Linked DNA regions of Homo sapiens: regions 1 and 3 are each linked to region 2. The links are contacts of gene promoters, found by promoter capture Hi-C in human tissues and cell types (Jung and others, 2019). All regions are on one chromosome and are shown on one strand. Each heading gives the region's core, a stretch centred on a gene start or on the middle of the fragment in contact. The rest is flanking DNA. Distances are from core to core; before and after follow the strand shown.

The links. Contacts are between HindIII fragments. The study calls those that stand out against the background at their distance.
Region 1: a fragment that was not itself captured here is called in contact with the fragment with the promoter of EBF1 in region 2 in 1 of the 25 tissues and cell types used here (lymphoblastoid cells).
Region 3: a contact is called between the fragment with the promoter of THG1L here and the fragment with the promoter of EBF1 in region 2, in 1 of the 25 tissues and cell types used here (thymus).

Annotation. Positions count from the first base shown.
Region 1 is chr5:158,055,642-158,058,566 of GRCh38, forward strand. No RefSeq gene overlaps it. Among named protein-coding and RNA genes, the nearest start is that of CLINT1, 200 kb to the left of the region's middle. The HindIII fragment of the contact is 5,538 bases long and covers 1-2,925 here.
Region 2 is chr5:159,098,400-159,101,342 of GRCh38, forward strand. It overlaps EBF1 (EBF transcription factor 1), which reads right to left and starts at 1,517. Exons shown (of 16, transcript NM_024007.5): 1 at 946-1,517. The coding sequence starts at 1,079. It overlaps LINC02202 (long intergenic non-protein coding RNA 2202), which reads left to right and starts at 2,084. Exons shown (of 3, transcript NR_109890.1): 1 at 2,084-2,439. RefSeq lists enhancers at 1-47, 1,797-2,425, 2,426-2,943 and a silencer at 690-979. The HindIII fragment of the contact is 15,907 bases long and covers 1-2,943 here.
Region 3 is chr5:157,729,622-157,732,811 of GRCh38, forward strand. It overlaps THG1L (tRNA-histidine guanylyltransferase 1 like), which reads left to right and starts at 1,799. Exons shown (of 6, transcript NM_017872.5): 1 at 1,799-2,010. The coding sequence starts at 1,820. RefSeq lists enhancers at 170-289, 320-399, 1,716-2,075. The HindIII fragment of the contact is 18,862 bases long and covers 1-3,190 here.

The sequences.
Region 1 (2,925 bases), core at 384-2,883, 1.0 Mb before region 2:
CTGCCTCTCAGCTCTTCCCAGAATATGCCTAAGCAATAATAGAGGGTCAGAGGCTGAGATTCTTGGTTTTTCAGTGGTAAATAATGAATGTTGCACCAGCTGCTGGCAGACTCTGAAATCTTCTGTTTTAAAATGCAGAAGGAAAAAGAAACACAATAAAAATATCCAATATGCATTTATCTGGTACATCATCTTTAAATAGCTCCCTTCAGATTGCAAAAAAGGTAACTCTATCCTCCTTCCTGGCTGGCTCTCTGCATCCTGCCACAAAACAGGGCTATTGGCCCTCGATTTTGACCTGGTATAAAAAGCAGTATATTTTTATGACCTGGTAACAGTCACATTTCTACACCATAAAATATTAAAGCAGGCATGACAGTGCCTTTAAGATCTTTGAGGCAGGTGCTATCAAAATGTGCCCCTTTATTATTTATTTATTTGACTCTTTTTGTATAGTGAGGCTTAAATGCTTTTCAGGCCAAATAATTAAATTCCATTATGGAGAGCGGGAATTGTTGGCAAAATATACTCACTCTCGCTATTAGACCCTTCAGTCCCCAGCGGAACTCCATGGAGGGGAGTAAAAAAAATCTGGCTTATATTTATATGTAAGATATGCAGTATGACATATTGGGCCCACAGGAGTGATGCTACATGAAAAAACAAATAGGGAGGGGACTGCTAGAGATCCTTCTCTCCTGGCCAGCAATCTCCTAGAGCAGGGGTCTGCCAACTATGGCTTGTGGGCCAAATCTGCCCATTGCCTGTTTTTGTACATCCTATAAGCTGAGTATGGTTTTGACAATTTAAATGGTTGAAAAAAAGTAACAGAGGAATAATATTTTGTGGCATGAGAAAACAAAATGAAATTAAAATTTAATTGTGCATAAAAAAGTTTGACTGGAACACAGCCACACCCATCATTTACATATTGCCTATGGTTGCATTTACATTCCTTCAAGTTGAGTGGTTGCCACAGAGAACGTAGGGCTGCAAAGCCAGAAATATTTACTGTCTGGCCCTTTACAGGAACAGCTTGCTGAACCCTGTTCTAGAGGAATTTGGACTTGGGCTCTGGAAAGGATAGCATGGGGGCTAGCCGAGTTCAAGATCCTTTATGCTGTTGATGCATTTGGATGTTGACTTTGATTTGATGAACCTGATTGTTTTTTGAAATGGACACATAGGCCGGTTAAGGGAAGAGGACAGGCATGCCCTAAAGTAGTTTTTGGATCCCATAACCCTCCCCTTCAAATGCAGCTCCTGGGATTGTATACTGGGTGACGTCCTTTCCCTCTCTCTGCAGTGTGTTTCTTTATATCTTTTCCGCCTCATCATCTCCATGACTGTTACCCACGGTTAAGGCATGACCATCTCCCCTGTTTTTGGGCAAAAGTCTGCAAACTGGTCTATTTCTATTCCATTTCAATAAGCAGTTGCTTCTCCACATAATAGTTGCAGCAATGTTTTAAGAAACAAAAACAGACCATATAACTTCCCTCAGATGGATGTGCTCCCTACTTTAGTCAAGATTCTGCTCAAATGACACCCCCAGGGAAGCCTTTCCTTGCCCACTCTTTCTAGAACAGCCCCCACCTCACTCCATCACTGTTTATGTTGTTACTTTTTTTTTCTTTTAAACTGTGTGCATAGCTCACTGCAGCCTAGGCTCAAGTGATTCTCCTGCCTCAGCCTCCTGAGTATCTGGGACTGCTGGCACATGCCACCATGCTTGGCTAATTAAAAAATTTTTTTGTAGACATAGGCTTTCACTTTGTTGCCCAGGCTGGTCTTGAACTTCTGGCTTCAAATGATCCTCCTGCCTCGGCCTCCCAAAATGCAGGGATTGCAGGCATAAGTCACCACACCCGACCTTGTTACTCCTTTTTATTGCTGTTCCAGCATTTGTTATCATCTTATATTATCTGAGTTGGTTCATTGGGTTACATTTGGTTTCCCCTGCCAGAATGGAAGCTCCATAAGAGTAGGTACCTCGACCATCTTATTCATTAGAGCATTTCCAACATCTCACGAGTTCTCAAGAAAAGGTTGTTAAGTGAGTAAATAAATGGATCAATCCTCCTGGCATAGGCCATGCAGTGTTGGCATCACCTTCTGCCTGTCTGCTTCTCCAGCGGTGTGTTAGCTTTTAAAATTTCTATATCCTTGCTCTCAAGGAGACCTGTGACTAGTAGGAGACACAGACATTAAACACTTCTTGGCATTTCACTTTCCTGCCATCTGCACCCTTCCTCCTGGATCCTGTTGTCTTTTAAGGCTAACCTGGTTATTTTCCATGAACCCACAGAAGGTTGAGAAAAGCTTCCTGTGTGTGGCAGACACTGTCAGGCTCCTTTTAGATCCCTTTGGATCCATTTCACTCTCCTTCCCCTGATTGCTTTTGCTTCTGTGACCTGCTCCAGTCACTCTCTTCAAAGGACACTTTTGGGCAACTGAAGTGGCTTACCCCCAAATCTCAGATAGGTGGAAATGCCTATGGGTTTATCCACCAGGGGCTGTTCTTGGTGAACAGCTGACTTGTGCAGAGGCATAAAATCCCAGCTTCCTTACCTCAAATGTAGACAAACTCTGAGGTACCCAACTTTCACTCCTGGGTTCTCTGTGGAGTTGGGTTGAAGCTGCTCTCCATGGGAAAAGGCCAGAAATCAAGCCTTTGCTCAGCTTCTCCCCCCTTCCTTCTTCTCCCTTACCAATTTCTCCCGGGAGCATTTCCTTAACAAATCTCTTGCCCACATGCCTTCCTCTCTGAGTCAGCTTCTGAGAAATCTCAGGTAACACACTCTGCTTTTGCATCATAGAGAGGCACATACACATTGAATCTAAAGAAAGTACATAATGGGAATATCAGCCACTGTGGCAGACCAGGGTTTAATATATTTTTTGGTTGGTGGGTGGAAGGCATGA
Region 2 (2,943 bases), core at 267-2,766:
CAGAATTAAAGTTGGGAGTTGCTATTCTACCGGTAGACTAAGAAAAAACTGAAAGACAGAGAGGGAGGGAAGGAGAACGAGATAGCAGAAATAAGAGAAGACTCAGGGGAGAAATGGGACGAAAAAACAGGAAAGCCAGAGAGGTAAGGAAAGGAGAAAGAGGAGAAAGGAGGGAAGCTGAAGAAAGAAGAGAAAGAAAATGGAGAGAGGAAGGGAGGAAGGAAAAGAGTGAGGGAGAAATTAAGGGAAGGTGGGGGAAAGAAATGAGAGAAGGAAATGAAAGAAAGAAGAAAGAAAAGAAGGCAGGAAGAGAGACAGGAAAGAACGAAGAACGAAAGAAATGGAAGGAGGGAAGAGGGGAAGAAAGGAAGAGGAAGGAGAAGAGAAGAAAATAAAGGGGGGAGAAAGGAAAGAAGGAAGAAAGAAAAAAGAAAGGCAGGAAGAGGAAAGAGAAAGAAAAAGGAAAAAGAAAAGGAGGAAAGAAAAAAAGAAAGAAAAAGAAAAAAGAAAGAAAAAGGAAGGAAGGAAGAGAAAGAAAGAAAGAAAAAAGAAAAGAGGGAAAGGAAGAGCGAAGGGAAAGAAGAAAAGAGAGCCGGCCGGAAAAGAAAGAGCAATCACATAAAAACATAAAACACAGATCTCCAACATGCTGTGTTGAGACGCCTCTTCTGGGTTAAAACAAAATGAAAACAGTCACAGACGAGGCAGGGGAAAGTGCTGGCAAAGCGTGGGCTCCTCGCAGACAGCTCCAGGTCCTCCGGCCGCAGGCGACGAAGGCAGAGCGGCTGGAGAGCGCGGAGCCCCGGCGGAGAGCGGAGCGCAGCGGCTGCGGACTCACCCCGCCGCCCGGCCCCGCGGCAGCAGCTGCCGCTGCCGCTGCCGCCTCCGCCTCCCGGCTCTCCCGCTCGCGGCTCACCTCGGCCGCGGTCCCCGCGCAGTACCCACCTCTGCGCCGCCGTGTTGGCGTCCAGCACCCCGGCGCCCTGCATCCACGTCCGCACCGCGTTCATGCCGCTGCCCAGCGGCTCTTCCTTCATGCTGCTTCCACTCCGTTGGATGCTTTCCTGAATCCCAAACATGAAAACAACCTTTTCTTGTGGAAAATCTCCTCCCCCTTGAAAAAAATTAAAAAAAAAAAAAAAGGAAAGAAAAGAAAGAAAAGAAAAGAAACAAAAACGCCAACCAGAGATTTTTTTTTTTCTCAGACGATGAACTCGCACTTAGAAGATCAAGGCGGGCTGGAAAGCAAATTTTTAAAAAATGTAAACCTCTGCTCAAAACTGAGCGATAACCCGAAAAAAAGAAGAAAGGGAAAATCCAACGAAAAGACCAAAATAATAAAATTAGAGATGTATGCTTGGCTGTTGGGGGTTGTTTGGTTGGTTGATTTTTGGTTTGGGTGCTTTTTTTTTTTTTTTGCTTTTTTTTTTTTTTTTTTGTAATGATCACAGGCCGGTGGAGGACAGGAGGGGCTGGAGTTTCCTTTTGTAGAGGTACCCTTCACTTGAAGAAGCAGGAAGAAAAAAAAAAAAAAAAAAAAAAAAAAAAAAAAAAAACCCTGATGGCAATTTAAGAAACAATAGACTCAACTCGCGCTGCCGGCTTTGCTACTTCAAGTGTCATTTTCCACAACCAGGCAAGTTTTTTCCTCTCTCTCTCTTTTTTTTTCCTCCTTCTCTCCCAACCAAAGATGTTTCTTTCCTTTGCGTGTAGATGAGGAGGACGCTGGTTGCCGTAGACAGATACACCAGAGAGGGTGGGGGGAAGGGGAGAGAGGGAGAGAGGAAAGGGGGGGAGGGAAAGAGAGATAGAGAGGAGAGGGAGAAAGAGAGAGGGGTGGACCCTGCTGGATGGAGATTCTGTTTTCTCCTTGCTAAAATAGAAGTGATTTGCAGGCTTTCCCTATGGAATCCAGTTTGACTTTCCCCAGAGCTAAACACAGGCACACTAACCCCAAAGGGAGGAGGCGGGGCCCGCGCATCGAGGCCCCGCCCCTTCATTTGCATAACGTCATCTTTCCGCCCACCGCAGCCAATCGCGGCCCGGGAGCCGGCTCGCTGGCGGCGCCAGGCCACGCTCTCTCATTAACATCCCGCTCCCGGTGGCGCAGGGGAGCCGGCCAAAGTTCCTCGCAAAGTGGCGAGCGAAGGAGCGCTGAGCACTGACGTCTGGGCTGGGGAGGAGCGGGTCCGAGCGAGGACGGAGAGGGGACAGAGGGAAAGGGAGGCGGGTGTCTTCCTCAGGAATTTGAGCTGGGGATCTGCATCCTGGCCATTGCAGTCCTTTAGCATCCTCGCCGCGCCCTGAGCGCGCTGGAGGCTCGCAGGCTGCGCCCTCCCAGGGCTGATGCCGCGTCCTGCTCCGCCGTTCTGGGACGTCGGGGACAAAAGTGGAGGAGACGGGAGAGCCCGGGCAGAAAAAGCAGGACGCGCGTCCCAGGTGCCCACCTCTTCGCTTTGAGGCGGGGGCGGTGGGATGGAATATGGGTGCGCGAGGTCGGGGCTGGTAACTCTCGGAGGGGCACGGCCTCCACGCTGGGAGGGATGAATGGACGCTGGGCCCCGGCAAATGAGGCGCTGTGGGTCCCCAGGAAGTGGGGTACCAGGCTCTACTCCCACCCCGGCCTCTGAAACGCTTCTCTCTCGGCCGCTAGCCTAGAGGCTGCCAGGGTTGGGCACTGTTCTCACTCACACGCTCACCTCTCTCGGGCAGTCCTCGAGATATGTGAATGGTGGAATGAATGCTCTCACTGGGGCTGTGTCAGGATGCGTTTTTAAATTTTCTCAAATTAAATGCCAACCCCTCATTCCCCACCCCAAGTAGTTGGTTCGTTTGTTTTTAGAGTAACTACCAAAGCAACAGCAATGTTAACCGTCCTTGATTAGCTGGTTATTTGGTGTAGGGTTTTTCTCATCCTCCTTTATTCTTCCTGTTAAAAAGGAG
Region 3 (3,190 bases), core at 549-3,048, 1.4 Mb before region 2:
ATGGTGGCACGCACCTGTAGTCCCAGCTACTAGGAAGGGAGGTGGGAGGTTCACCTGAACCCAAGAGGTCTAGGCTGCAGTGAGCTGAGATCATGCCATTGTACTCCAGCCTAGGTGACAGTGAGACTCTGTCTCGAAAACATACACATAAAAAAAATAAAAATCATGAATTCATATTGATAAGTAATTTTGAAAAATTCACCTAATGAAAGTAGGGCTCCTAGAGGAGGCAAGATTTGGTTGTCTCCTGGTCAGCTTGGAGAGAGGAGTTTGTGGAAGTAAAAGGTGAGGAATGATAACCTACAGAAAACTGACTTCACAGCAACAGAAACAAAGAAAAGATGCAGGATGTCATAATTTATGTCTTGGTCCTGCCACATATGTGACCTTATGTAAATTATTTTTTTCTCTTTGAGTCTCAGATTTCCCCTTTGTAAAGGTGAAATCCCAGTTCCTCTTTTGCATCCCTCTGATGTTACTCTGAGCATCAAAGGAGTGATGACTACCATTTGTGGTACTATTATGAGGATATACACACATACTGATATAGATCCCTGTATGGATACACAAAAAACTGGTAACAGTAACTGCCTAAAGTATGTTGTTAGGAGTCAGTGAGAGACTTTTTGCTACATATAAAAGGATTTATATTGTTTGAATATTTTTCTTTTTCTTTAGAGACAGATTCTTGCTCTGTCACCAAGGCTGGAGTGCAGTGGCTAATGATGGGTCACTGCAGTCTCGAACTCCTGGCCTCAAGTATCTTCCCACCTCATCCTCCCATAGCTAGGACTACGGGCATGGGCTACTAAGCCTGGATAATTTTTTTTCTTTTTTGTAGGAACAGGGGTCTTGCTACGTTGCCAAGGCTGGTATGAATCTCCTGAACTCAAGCAATCCTCCTGCCTCTGCCTCCCAAAGTGCTGGGATTACAGGCGTCAGCCACCGTGCCTGGCCTGAATATCTTTCTTGAGGATGGAAAAAAAAAAAAAGTAAGTAAGTAGGTAATGAATTTGAAAGAGCTTTGTAAATCACAAAGTATGACACAAATATTAGGATTTTATTTTTACTATTATCCACCAGCAACAAGATATCAAACACTGGTTCTGTGATTATTTAATGGTGAAAAAGTTGAATAAATCAATTTAGTATACCCATATGTTGGAATATTGAGTCCATTTTTCTTTTAAAAATCACACTTTGGAATAATTGATGATACTGGCAAATGCTCAAGCTGAGTGGAAAAATATATAAACATTGTATAGGCGAATAATTCCAATCTTGTGCATTCCCTGTGTAAACCTACATACACAAAAAGAAAAAAGACTGAAAGGAACCATCCACAATGCTTTGATGGGAAAGACGGAGAAACAAAGTGTTAATTTTCTTAACTATAGTTTTGGTGTATTCCAGATTTTCTACAAGTTAATAAATGCCACTAAGAAAAGGGGAAACATCACAGCTACACCTTCAAACACCAGAAAAAGAATTTTTTTTTTTTTTTTTTTTTTTAGGTTGGGGTATGATTTTGATCTGGGCACTAACGGGGACACTGATTGCTTTTGCCAGTAAGTCAAGACCAGCAGATAAAAAATAATTTTTAAAAACCTCGTGAGACTGATTTGCCGCAGGACGGGAGGAGGAAGAAGCAAGCGTGGAAGGTGCTAACGGAGGAACCTAAACCTCCATCCTCTTTGCCTGGGAGGTTAAGAACTACAGGGAGAGGCGAGAGAGACTATGACTGCCCTACGGCTAGAGTAGCCGCGAAGAGAACACTTCCGGGGCGGGGCTATCTGGCCCTTTCCTTTCCGCGTGTAGAATGTGGGGCGCCTGTAAAGTTAAGGTTCACGATTCCTTGGCCACCATTTCCATCACTCTGAGACGGTACCTGAGATTGGGGGCGACCATGGCAAAAAGCAAGTTCGAGTACGTGAGGGACTTCGAGGCTGACGACACCTGCCTGGCACACTGCTGGGTGGTAGTGCGGCTGGACGGCCGGAATTTCCATCGGTGAGCGAGCTCGACTCGGGGCGTCGCGATGCGCCAGCGCTTCCGGGGAATCCAGCTTCTTCCCTTGCAAGTCCTCCCGCCCGCTCCAGTCACGGTTACCAGGGTAACGCGGTAGCCAATGAGTGCGCAGCATGGAGCATTGCCCCGCCCTGCGTGTTGGCTAGGACAGTGCCTGAACGCTGGCTGTTAGCGTAATTGAATGGGCGATGTGCTCCCGTGATGAGGATCTGGCTTGGAGTGCCCGTGTTAAGTGAACAGAGACTTGTTAGCAAGGACCTGTTGTTAAAAGTCACTCTCATGCACAATATTTAAGCTCTTAAGCCAATTGCCTAGCTATTCTGTTAGATATCTTTGAATGCTGACTGTTCAGAAGTCTGTGTAAGCCTTGCTTGTGGGCAATACTTAACGTCTGTGCTTCATTATCAGTAACAGGCCACATGGACTAGATTCAACAGAGAGTCAGAAAAAAAGAGAAGGCTGGGCGCGGGAGGCAGGAGGATCACTTAAGGCCAGGAGTTGGAGACCAAGTTTTTGTTTTTGTTTTGTTTTTTCTGTGGTTGTTGTTTGTGAAACTCCGCCACTACAAAAAAAAAAAAAAAAAAAAAAAAAAAAAGAGAGAGAGAGAGAGAAAGAAGGAAGAGAGAAAGAAAGAAAAAGAAAAAATTTAATTTGCCCGGCGCAGTGGTGCACACATGTAGTTCCAGCTACTGGGAAGGCTGAGGTGGAAGGATCGCTTGAGCCTGGGAGGTCAAGGCTGCAGTGAGCGGTGATTGGACACTGCACTCCAGCTTGGGTGACAGAGCAAGACCCTGTCTCAGAAAAAGAGGGAGGGGGAGAAAGAAATATAACAGAAAGATGGGAATTTAATCTTTGAAGAGGGCTGCATTGTTAATGATTATTATAACTAACATTTATTGAGCACTTACTAGGAGCTAGGTATGATTACTTTTATCTTCTCCCTAATCTTCAGGACAACCCAATGAGGTAAATATTCTTTTATTCCCATTTCACAGAAAGGAGAGTTGAGGCTTAGCATTTCTGTCTGGCTTTCTCAATTTCAGGGCAGGAAAAAAACTAAGTTCTTAAGAAAATGGATCAGGTTGTGGCTAGTTGAGCATTTGAGTTCACAGTGCTATTACATTATCTTCCTCCAAACAGCCTCTGTTATCTAGCAACAGAG